Regions from separate parts of the Homo sapiens genome. Here region 2 is linked to region 1. The links are contacts of gene promoters, found by promoter capture Hi-C in human tissues and cell types (Jung and others, 2019). All regions are on one chromosome and are shown on one strand. Each heading gives the region's core, a stretch centred on a gene start or on the middle of the fragment in contact. The rest is flanking DNA. Distances are from core to core; before and after follow the strand shown. Region 1 holds the start of GGA1 (golgi associated, gamma adaptin ear containing, ARF binding protein 1). Region 2 overlaps MYH9 (myosin heavy chain 9).

What was found. Contacts are between HindIII fragments. The study calls those that stand out against the background at their distance.
Region 2: a fragment that was not itself captured here is called in contact with the fragment with the promoter of GGA1 in region 1 in 1 of the 25 tissues and cell types used here (spleen).

The regions. Positions count from the first base shown.
Region 1 is chr22:37,605,445-37,611,120 of GRCh38, reverse strand. It overlaps GGA1 (golgi associated, gamma adaptin ear containing, ARF binding protein 1), which reads right to left and starts at 2,287. Exons shown (of 17, transcript NM_013365.5): 1 at 2,218-2,287. The coding sequence starts at 2,260. RefSeq lists enhancers at 1,458-1,567, 1,282-1,903, 2,508-2,677, 2,828-2,907, a silencer at 1,898-2,347 and a cis regulatory region at 3,652-4,111. The HindIII fragment of the contact is 29,756 bases long and covers 1-5,676 here.
Region 2 is chr22:36,366,258-36,371,933 of GRCh38, reverse strand. The region is part of intron 1 of MYH9 (myosin heavy chain 9); the gene reads left to right. Among named protein-coding and RNA genes, the nearest start is that of MYH9, 19 kb to the left of the region's middle. RefSeq lists an enhancer at 2,574-2,663 and a silencer at 2,976-3,270. The HindIII fragment of the contact is 6,874 bases long and covers 1-5,676 here.

The sequences.
Region 1 (5,676 bases), core at 1,038-3,537:
AAGGCTGGGGAACATCAGTCTAAAGTTAGAGAATCACTGCCCATTCAATGACACCCAGCCAGAAGACCCTAAAACAGGAAGTCCCTTAAAGTGTCAAAGACACGTGAGTTGGAGTGAGGTCAGAGAAGCTGATTCTGGACTGCTCCTGGGTCAGACGCCAGTGAAGAGGAAGCGCTGGCATCATGAGACATCATCTTTCTCCCCCTGCCTCTGGCTGAAAGCCAGGGCCTCCAGATCCAAGGAGATCTGACTGACCTCCTTGGCCCATGGCCCCTGACCCTCAGCCCTCTTAATTCTACCTGAGGGGAGTACCCTCCCTAGCAGGCAGTTGGGGAGAACACCTAGAGAGGGAGGGAGGTGTTTCACAACAGGGTAAGACTCCACCCTGCCACTCTATAGTGCTGACAATAACATCATTTACCTCACTAGGCCGGGCGCGGTGGCTCACGCCTGTAATCCCAACACTTTGAGAGGCCGACGTGGGCGGATGAGTGGCTAACGCCTGTAATCCCAACACTTTGAGAGGCCTATATAGGCGGATCACCTGAGGTCAGGAGTTCGAGATCAGCCTGGCCAACATGGTGAAAGCCCACCTGTACTAAAAATACAAAAATAGCTGGGCGTGGTGGCGCACCTGTAATTCCAGCTACTCGGGAGGCTGAGACAGGAGAATCACTTGAACCCGGGAGGTGGAGGTTGCAGAGAGCTGAGATTGTGCCACTGCACTCCAGCCTGGGTGACAAGAGTGAAAACCCGTCTCAAAAAAAAAAAGAAGAAGCTATCCTTTACCTCCAGCCTCCACAAGGGAAGAGGAAAGATCTTACAATTCTGCTAGGACACAAAGGGGGAAGGAAAGGAGAAAATCCCAGCCCCAGTGTGTCAGGGCCCAGCCAAACCCAGGTATCTCTAACTTCTGCCTGGTTTTAGACTCTCTGGACTCTCAGAAAACCCCCACTGTTTCTAAACCTGAGAATGTTTTGTATGACCCACAGCTCAAGACCTGTGTCTGAGATCAGTTAGCCAGGGGCCCACCCATCCCCCCAGCCCAGTTGCTGCTGAGACCCAGGCGGACACTTCCGGCGTTCACAACGGTCAAGGGCTGCTGAGTGCCCCTTTTCCACCCCCTGCCCCTCTGGTGGCTAGGATGACTCTGAAACATCCCTAGAGGTTTGGTTCTGGGGCCAACCTCATGGTTCAACTCTGCTCAAGCCTGGCTTAAAAGGGGCCGGCCATGACCCCAAACCACGCTAGACAGTTGCCGGTGTGCCCGGGTCCAAGAGGGTTCCCTGAGGCCCTGGCAACGACGGGGTCCCAACAGCAGTTAAAGCCTTGGGAGAGAACCCTCACTAGACCAGGGAGAAGCCAGCCACGGCTTTCAGAGGCAGAGTCCAGGAGCGGGGCTGTGAGAGCAGGGGATCATCAGGGCTGTGGGTTAAGGAGCTCAGGTGGAGGGTTTGCGGGCTAGGAAGCCTAAGCAATAGGAAGCTACGTCTGAGGAGAAACAAGAAAAAAAGGGGTGTAGAAGCCTTTGAAGGAAGTTCAGCAAGAGCTGGGAAAGGCATCTTGGAGACTGAGGGGTTAGGCTGAAGGGAGTGACAGGGAGCTTGGAATTATTAATACTTCTGGAGTCTAAGACTCTCCCAAGCCTGTAGGGTGCGGGGGTTTCTCACTATGTGGCTAGAGACTAGGAGCGGCGGGAGGAATCAAATGGGGCAGTGGGTCCTCCCTTCCAGGACGGGGTAATGAGCAAATGTGACTACTTGCGGGCTCCAGGAACGCCATGCAGGGCCAGAGAGTGGAGGATTCGGGGCCTGAAAATAGTAGGGTCCCTCCCTCCCGGGTGTGAGATGCAACCCCGGGGAACCGCTCGCGTGCTCCTTCCCCGGGCCGCTACTCCGTGAAGCAATGTGAGCCTTGGGGGTTGGAGGCTGCTCTCTCCGTCCCGGGGGTTCCCGGCGCAGCTCACTCGCCGTCCCAGGGGTCATGGCCCAGGGATCCGACAGGTGGGCGGCGCCCGCTCCCACCGCTGGACCGCGCCGGGGCCGGGGTCCTCCATCGCTCCAGGGTCTGAGGGGCCGACTGAGGACACCGCCCCTCCCGGGCCGGGGGCGGGGCGTGAGGAGGGGGCGACCCGTACCCCGCCCCCGCCGGGAAGGGGCCCGCCTCGTGCCCCCGGTTCCGGTTCCGGTCCGGCCCGCGCCCCTCCCGGACACTCACTGATTCGCGCCTCCAGAGTCTCCGGCTCCATCGCGGGCTCCATCCGCCACCGGCCCCCAGCCTCGGCACCGCCCCCCCGCCCCCCGCAGCTCTCGCGGGACCTCCTGGGCACCGCCCTCTGCCGATTAAAGGGGCAACGTCCGAACGGGCGCGCTCGGCACCATAGAGAGGCCAACGAGCTCGCCTAGAGCGTCACCTACTCGCCCAACCCCACCCCCACGCGGCGTCTACGTCGCAGCTGGGACCGGCCGCCTGCTTTTCCGTTCCCGGCGCTCAGGCGGGAGAGGAAGTGGAGATACTGCAGGCTAAGGGCAGCACCATGGAAACCCCAAGGGACGCTCTAACTCGTTCTGCGTCACGGAGATGTCTGTGACCGCCTCCGGAAGAATTCTCTGCGGGCATGTTGCTGAGGGGCTCTGAGGCCACTTCCGGAGCCCTGAGCGGGTACTTCCGCTTAGAGTCGAACGTGGGAGAGTCCCTTAAAAGGGCGATAAGCTACATCCTCATGTACCTTGGCCGCTGTGAAAATGACGAAAATAAATCAGTTTCTTGAGTGCTTACAGTATTCTGGGCATTGTCCTAAGCACTATTTGTAATTAATCCATTTAGTTCTGACTCCTTACAACAAACCCACCAGATAATTAGTCGGCCTGAGGCCGCACAAGTAGCAGAGCTTGAACCCTGTGCCGTCTCCTCCATTCATCCAGCCAACGTTTAATGAACTCTTTGTATTTGCTTTGCTCTGTGATGGGCACAGAAGGAGATAGACAAGGCCAGATATTTATTACAGTGTGATAGGGGAAGCCCACGGGGTAGTGGGAACAAAGGAGGGGGCTCCTCCCCCAAACTGGGGTGGGGTGGGTGGGGGTGTTGTCAGGGGAGGGGTCGTGTCAGGGGAGGGGTCGTGTCAGGGGAGGTTTCAAGAGAAAGTGATACTGTACTTCGCTCAAAGACAGTCGGATTTCTCCACGTAGAGCTGGTGCGAAAAGATATTCAGGGAGAAAAAGTAGGATGAAGGCCGAGGAGGGCGGATCACGAGGTCAGGAGATCGAAACCATCCTAACACGGTGAAACCCCGTCTCTACTAAAAAAAAAAAAAAAAAAAAATTATCTGGGCGCGCCTTTAGTGCCAGCTACTTAGAAGGCTGAGGCAGAAGAATCGCTTGAACCCGGGAGGTGAAGGTTGCAGTGAGCCGAGATTGCGTCACTGCACTCCAGCCTGGGCGGCATAGCGAGACTCAGTCTCAAAAAAAAAAAAAAAAAAAAAAGTAGGATGAGTCCAGGGAGTTGGAAGTATTTCAATACGGCTCCCAGATATCTGCAAATAGATATCTATTTGCAGGAGATATCTTGGAATTAGGCTGGGGCAAGATCACCCAGGTCCCATGTTTTGCTGCCCTTTTTTTTTTTTTTCCCTGTAAGCAACGTTGGAGGTGTCGTTACAGTTTTACGGATGGTAGCAAAGTCAGGCTTTTGTTTTAGAAGGGTCCAGCAGTGGGAGGAAGATAGCAGTGGGAGCCAGACTGGAATCGGGGAGGACAGTACGAACAGACTTCCTAAGCTCGGCGCCTTTTCTCCTGTATCTCCCTCCATCAAAGACCTCCCTCACCTTGTGGCGTCACGACCTGGCGGCGCCTGGTCCCCGACTCACCTGGGTCCATTGCACTCTGTCGCCCCCTCGCGGCCGGCTGGGAAACCGGCCCGTGGCGACCTCTCCAGCGGTCCTGTGCCTGGGAGGGTTAAAGCTCCACTGAGACTAGGGAATCTGGCGAATCCGGTTCTGCCTTGGCGACTGACCTCGATTCACCTTGCGGAACCGCAGTAACCTCATCCAGGAGATGAGGGGGCTGTGCTGGGTCAGTTTTTCCCCTAAACTCAACCATTCAGCGACTGGGATGCTTTTCTAAATTCTCTCCCAAAGGCCATTGAGATTATACAGGGAAGTGATATGTATGTTTATTGCATTCCTCAACAAAAGCTGTAACGTAGTGTATACTTATAGCTTTTTGTTTATGTCTTTTACTACTGAAATGAATTATATATATTTTTTTATTTTATTTTATTTTTGAGACGGAGTCTCTCTCTGTCGCCCAGGCCGGAGTGCAGTGACGCGATCTCAGCTCACCACAACCTCTGCCTCCCGGGTTCAAGTGATTTTCCTCCCTCACCCTCCCGAGTAGCTGGGATTACCGGCGCCTGCCACCACGCCCGGCTAATTTTTTCATATTTTTAGTAGAGACGGGGTTTCACCATGTTGGCCAGGCTGGTCTCGAACTCTGGACCTCAAGTAATCCACCCGCCTGAGCCTCCCAAAGTGCTGGGATTACAGGTATGAACCACTGCGCCCAGCCTATTATATTTATTTTTGAGACAGAGTTTTACTCTGTCGCCCAGGCTAGAGTGCAGTGGCACGATCTCAGCTCACTGCAACCTCTGCTTCCTGGGTTCAAGCGATTCCCCTGCCTCAGCCTCCTGAGTTGCTGGGATTACAGGCATGCGCCATCATGCCTGGCTAATTTTTGTATTTTTAGTAGAGACAGGGTTTCGCCATGTTGGCCAGGCGGGTCTCGAACCCCTGACCTCAGGTGATCCACCTGCCTTGACCACCCAAAGTGTTTGGATTACAGGCGTGAGCCACCACGCCCAGCCTGAGATGAATTATTACTGAAATAAAACTCACATCGCATTTACTGCATTCATTTAGGGACATGTCTGTGCTGTCAGGAGTCACTTTTAAAGACAAAATAGATTTGATTTAGGTGCAAATTCTGACTTCACTGCTTTCTGGATGATCTTGAACAAGTGTGTCTGCAAAATTAATCCCCTACCACATGTTCCCTACCACCTTTTCTGCTGAACTTTTCTCCTTAGCACTTATCTCCACTACATATTTCATTTCTTTGTTGTGTTTTGTGTCTCTCTCCCCCACCAGAATGTAAGCTCCACCACGGCAATGGATTTTATTTAGTTACTTCACTAATAATATATCCCCAAGCCCTAAAACAGTAACTGTTACACAATAAGTATTCAATAAATATGCATCAAATAAATGAATGAATATGCCCAACATTGCACAGTGAGTATGGGGGTTTGGAGAGGCGAGCCAGGCTGTGCTTGTAACAAAGGCTCTAGGCTGTCCCTCTGAGTTCTGGGGAGCAGGGCGTGATAAGGTAGACTCAGGAGCTGTGTCTATGCGTGAAGGGCCTGGCCCAAACTGGGGATCAGGGTAGGAGGTACGGTAGGAGGAACCTAAAGATGGTGAAAGGAAGGAGGACCAACACGGGAAACTTGGAGGAAATGCCTGTGGCAGCCGTTCCCACCCATTCCCCACCATGAGCAAATGTGTTGCTTTGAGAGACTTGAGGAACCCCTGAGAAGGGCAGGTAAAGCTCAGCTATAATCACCTAAGCCATGCCGACCTCTAAGGATTTAACACCTCAGCTCCTTCCTAAGAAAACC
Region 2 (5,676 bases), core at 1,934-4,433, 1.2 Mb after region 1:
AATAATCAAACATACTTACTAGGAAAGTCAAGACAGTAAGAGCTGTAGAGAGCCCAAGCAGATGAGGGGGTATGTTGAGAGGTACTAAATTGCTCAGGCAGCTGGGTGTGGTGGCTTACGCCTGTAATCCCAGCACTTTGGGAGGCCGAGGCGGGCGGATCACCTGAGGTCAGGAGTTCGAGACCAGCCAGGCCAACATGGTGAAACCGTCTCTACTAAAAATACAAAAATTAGCCAGGCATGGTGGTGGGCACCTGTAATCCCAGCTACTTGGGAGGCTGAGGCAGGAAGAATCGCATGAACCTGGGAGGCAGAGGTTGCAGTGAGCCGAGATGGCGCCATTGCACTCCAGCCTGGGCAACAAGAGTGAAACCCTTTCTCAAAATAAAAATACGAATAAAAAAAAATTGCTCAGGCTGCTATGATGAAGTACAAGATTGTGTGGTTAAGCAGCAGACATTTATCCCCTCAGTTCTGGAGGCTGGAAATGCAAGATCAAGGTGTGGACAGGCTTGGTTTCCTTTGAGCCCTCTCTCCTTGGCTCATAGATGGCCGTCTGCCAACTGTGTCCTCACATGGTCTTCGCTCTGTGCACGCACACGCCTGGTGTCTCTTCCTCGTCTTATAAGGACACCAGCCATGGGATTAGGGCCTACCCGAAGGACCTCATTTTAACTTAATTACCTCTTCCAAGGCCCTGTCCTCAAATACCAGTCACATTCTGCGGTACTGGGAGTTAGGGCTCCAACATAATGGATATTTTTGGGAGGGACACAATTCAATCTGTAACAGGGAAGAAGGGAGTAGGGGAGTGTGTTTGTGTCAGCAGAGGGTTCTCTGATCCAGGGACATTCTGTGGATGCCTTCAGATCTGGGGGAGGAGCCCTCCAGGACGGTGCTCTACCGGTTGTTTAATTGCTTTGAGCTCCAGTTTCTGTATCTGTAAATTCTGGTTCATAGAACTATCTGTTAGTGTTCTCTGGGTAGCTAAAGTATGAAATGCTCTCAGCAGTGTCTAGTTCATGATGGACTCCCGATAAGTATCAATGCCCCTCCTGCCCTTCTTCCCACCCCCCACTGCCCACCCCTGGTTCACCAGCGCTTTTTCCTTTTGTCCCACTTTGCTCTCTGCTCCGGGCTTCTACTTCTGATCAAAACACTTGAGAACTGGGTGGGGGCTGCCCTGGCTGCTCCCAGCTCCCAGGCTGCCCTGCCTTCTGCCCAGTGCCTGTGAGCCAATTGTTCTTGGAGGTGGCTCCTCCCCTCTGTTAAGTCATAAGCACTTTTGACACCGGTAAGGAGGAACTGTTGTAGAAAGCTGGTGCAGGACTATAACCTAAACTCCCAGGTACTGGCCCGAGTGTTGGATGGCTGCGGTTCGAGCGTGCGTTGCCAAATGCTTCGCTTATGCCACTGTTCCCAGCGGACTGCTTCATGTCTTAGCAATTCTCTGTGCTGGCTTATGTGCTGGTCTTGCTTCCCCTTTTAGAGGCCTTGTCGCCAGGACCCTTGCATGGTGCCTTGCCCATGGTGAGCACTTGATACATGCTTGAGAAACAGGTGAGGATATTCATACTAGAATGTGGGTGGCACAGACCCTGATGTCCTGGGTAGATGGCTTTATTTCTTTGGCTTCTGAGCCTCACCAGCATGATGGGCGTGTGTCTGGTGCTTAGGTAAATAGGCAGGCACTCTGGACTCAGACCATCTGCCCTAATCTTGGTTCTCCCACCTGCAGGCCCTTTGACCTTGAGTGAGTCATACAATCTTTCTTTGTGCCTCAGTTTTCCTTATCTGTGGAATGAGGAAAATAAATGCCACAGAGGGTTTTGATGCTAATAAAGTATAGCTTTATTGTTTATATGTTTTATCTGTCCACAATTTATCTGGCACAGTGCCAGGTGATATATTTTTATCTGTTTAAAAATTTCAGTCTATTTTTTATATCACGTTACAAAGGTTAAAGTCACTTTCAAGTTATTGCAACAAAAGTCTCTCAATCCCATGAAGGTGGCAGTATTAGTGTTCCTATTTTGTAGCTGGGAATGTTGAGAGTCCAAGAAAACCTACGTGACTAGCCCCAGGTAGCAAGTGAATGATCTAAAATCCTCTCCCAGCTCCTCATTTTCAGGCCAGTTATTTTCCATATCTACTTCCATCGCCTCTCCTGCCTTCTCATCCCACTTCAACCACTATGTGGACAATAGTTGTGAAATTGGGTTTTTGTAGACTTCCACACATAGCCTCACAGTGGTGGTTGCTGGGTCGCGTTACCTAGTTGGCTTTATGGCACCAGCTGTAAATTACAGCCCTCCCTGTTCCATCCTAAGAGACCTGTCGGGTAGACAGCAGGTGAAGGCTGGCAGGCTGGTGTGAGGTCTGGTTAGCCTGGTCCTTGTGGGGAACCTGGGTTTTTGCTGTCCTCCCTCTGAAGAATGGATACCGCCCCCTCGTACCTTCCTAGCCCACCAGCATGCTGTTCTCAGCCCGCCTTCTGCCCAGAGCCGGCCTGCCGCCCACTGTTTCCTGCCTTTGCCAGGGCGAGGGGGAGGTGGGTATATAATGCCAAATGCTCATGAAAAACGCCTCATCATGAGATTAATTACTTGCTGCCGAGCACTGTGGAATTCACGAGTCTCCATCAGCACCTCAACGTCTTCCCCTGAACTCTACCTGGGGTTAGTTCTGTGGACTCTCTGGCTAGAACTTTAAACCTATGTTAGACAGAAAGAAATAGATAGTGGCCACCAGTACGATGCTGAAGATCAGTCTGGCAAAATCCCTCCTGCCATTGACTAGCTGTGTGTCCTGGAGGCTTGATGTCCTCAAAGTGGGGACGCTAGGCTGAGGGCGCTTTCTGGTTGTGAGGCCTGGGTGTGCTGACCTGTGCAGTATCATACACCTTGGAGGACCAGCGTGGTACAGAGGGGCTGCAGAGGGGTGGGTCTCTTCCCTTTTAATACAGGTCACAGGCTTTAATGACCCTTAGGTTGAAATTAGAGCCCCCCCACCCCCACCCCCTTGCCTTACTTCTGGCTTTTACACAAGAATCTGAAGAATGTGATGCTCTATCGCGGACGGGGCAGGCTTCGCAGGCTCTTCCGGGCTTTGCAGGGCAGCCTTTGTTGTGCTGCAGGACCTGGGGCATTCCGAATTGGTTGTGGTTGGGAGTCAGAGACAACTCCAGGCTTATTAAATTCCTGGCTGTTTAGGGCGATATAGACAGCTGGGAGGGGTAAGGGTGGGGAGATAACACTCCTCCACCTCCCAGCACTGTTATCTTAGAGAAATTGGGTTAAAAGTGAGTCTGCTGGAGGGGATTGGTAGCAGACAGGAGGACAGATACTGGTGCTTTGGCCCTGGGCTACTGGAAAGCTTGCGGGTCCACCTCTGCGCTTCTCCTTCCTGATCACGGAGCAACTGCTGTTGACCAGGTCCTATGTGACGCCTTGCCAGATGCTCTGTGTGCATTCGCTGTCTCATTGCACCCCTAGAGGCAGTGGAGCAGAGTGGTTAGGGATGGAAGACCTGGAGCCCCAAGTGAGACCTGCAGGGTACAGACACCGGCAGCTAGTGCCTGTGTGTCCTTCAGCAAGTAAGCCTTCTGGCCTTGTTTCCCCATCTGCAAAACGGGATACCACTAGAATCTACCTCACAAGAGTGCTGTGTGCTAAAGTGAGATTCCTGGTGAAAAGCACTCAGAATAAAGTGCAAGTGGCCGTTATTTAATTACCAACAGGGTCCTGGGAGGTGGGCCTTTTCATTCCCATTGTACAGATGAAGAAAGGGAGGTTCAGGACATTTAAATAATTTGCCGGATTTCCTGAACCAGTGAGGAGAATCCAGCGCTTACCTCCAGGTTGGCCTGACTTCGGCCATATCCCAGCATCCTCTGGGGTGTCTGTATGCAGGCATGTGTGTGTGTGTGTTTGTATATGTGCATGTCTGTTTGCACAGGTCTCTGTGTGCATGTCTCTGCACCTCTGTGTGCACAGATCTTTGCACGTGTCTGTGTGCATGCATATCTGTGTGTGTGCAAGTCTGTATGCACCCATCTTGGACTGGGGAGGGGAGGAGGGGGCCTGGGGCTCTGTCCAGGGCAGGATGGCATTGGCCCAAATCTGGCAGCTCTCTAGAGCAGGGGCCGCTGCTGCTTCCTTCTTTCATGTGCAGCCACAGCTTTGGCCACTTTCAAACCAGACTGTGGCCTGGGCAAAGGAGTGCTGCTTGGTGAGTGGTAAAGTAAGCGGTAGTCACGTTTCTGGGGAAGGACTTGGTAAGGTCATCCTGCCGGCCAGGCTGCCTGCTCAAGGACACTGGGGTTGGCCAGCCTTTCAGACAAGGGTGCTGCCGCAACCCAGTCTAGGAGCGGTAAGTTAATTTTTCTGTAAAGTGCAAAATAAGTGGATTTCATCCTCACTTGTATTTGATCATTTCCCCCGGGGAATGCAGGAGGCTCTGGGATGCTTCTCTGGAAAGCTTGGCATTGCCTGCCATGCCTTCTATATGTCCAGGGCTGGCTGTGTGCTTGCTCATTTGAGAACCGGAGCAAGGGATGGAAATGTCGGGAGGAGAGACCGTTCACCCTTCAGTTTTGGGCTTCTTGTTCCTGGAGTCCAGGGCACCCCAGAGCAGTGCAGGAGAATCGGCCTCCCTCCCGTGCCACGTGGACTCTTGCTATTGGGTTATTCTGTCCACAGCTTTGCTTCCTCAGCGAGATCCTGCTTAACCCTCCGGAGGGTGACGAAGGAAGAGATCCTGCCTCAAGTCTTTGTTCATGTTGCCTTGGTAGAAAAGGAGGCCGCACTAGTGCCCCATTACCTTTGAGCTTGTGACCAGGGGACTCCTAAAAGTCCATGGACCGCACTGCAGAGTCTCTGCGAGCCCCCTAACGTGGTATGCAAGGCGTTCACCACCTCTCACAAGTTCTCAAAGGGGTCCTTGACCACTGACCTAGACAAATAGAAGCTTTGGGTTTTCCATTTGTAGAGTGTGCACACGTGAGTGTCGCATAACGGATGCAGCCTGGGGGCCGTTAGGATCAGGATGGGGGTTTGTTCTAGTCTAAGTTGTGCCACCCCAGGGGTGATCACTTTCCTGGGGCTCATCACTGTAGCTCCAGCACAGTGGCCTTCCCCTCCCTGATGATCCTTCTTGTATTTAAGCCTTTAGAACACCGTCACTTCTGGGTATCTCTTCAGTGTGGGGCTGGGCCTGGAGATGGGAGGGGTGATGTTTCTGATGCCAGACTTGATCTCTTGTTACCTTGGATGCTGAGGAAGGTGGGCTCCTCTTTCGTTCTTGTGCTCTTGCCCCTGCACATCGGCAGGGATGTTCCCGGGAAACCCTGTACCTAGGCAAGTCACTTAGCCTCCCTGAGCCTCTGAGGCTCTCTCCTTTTTTAGGGGGAGGGGCCGCGTGACCCTTCACTTTGCCAAGGCTGGCGGGATCAGATGATGTAAACACCACGAGATGAATGTGTCAGGTGATTGGGTTGCTACAGCTGAGTCTCACTTGCCTGGAGTGGGACACTCCCCCCGACCCCCCACCTCTCACTGAGTTTCCCTTTGGCTTTGGACTTGAGTTTCTGCTTGGCCTGGCTATGTGATCTTAGGCAGATCGTTCCTCTCCTTCCTAGCGTAGATAAGTCACGGTGGTGTTTTTCAAGAACTTTCA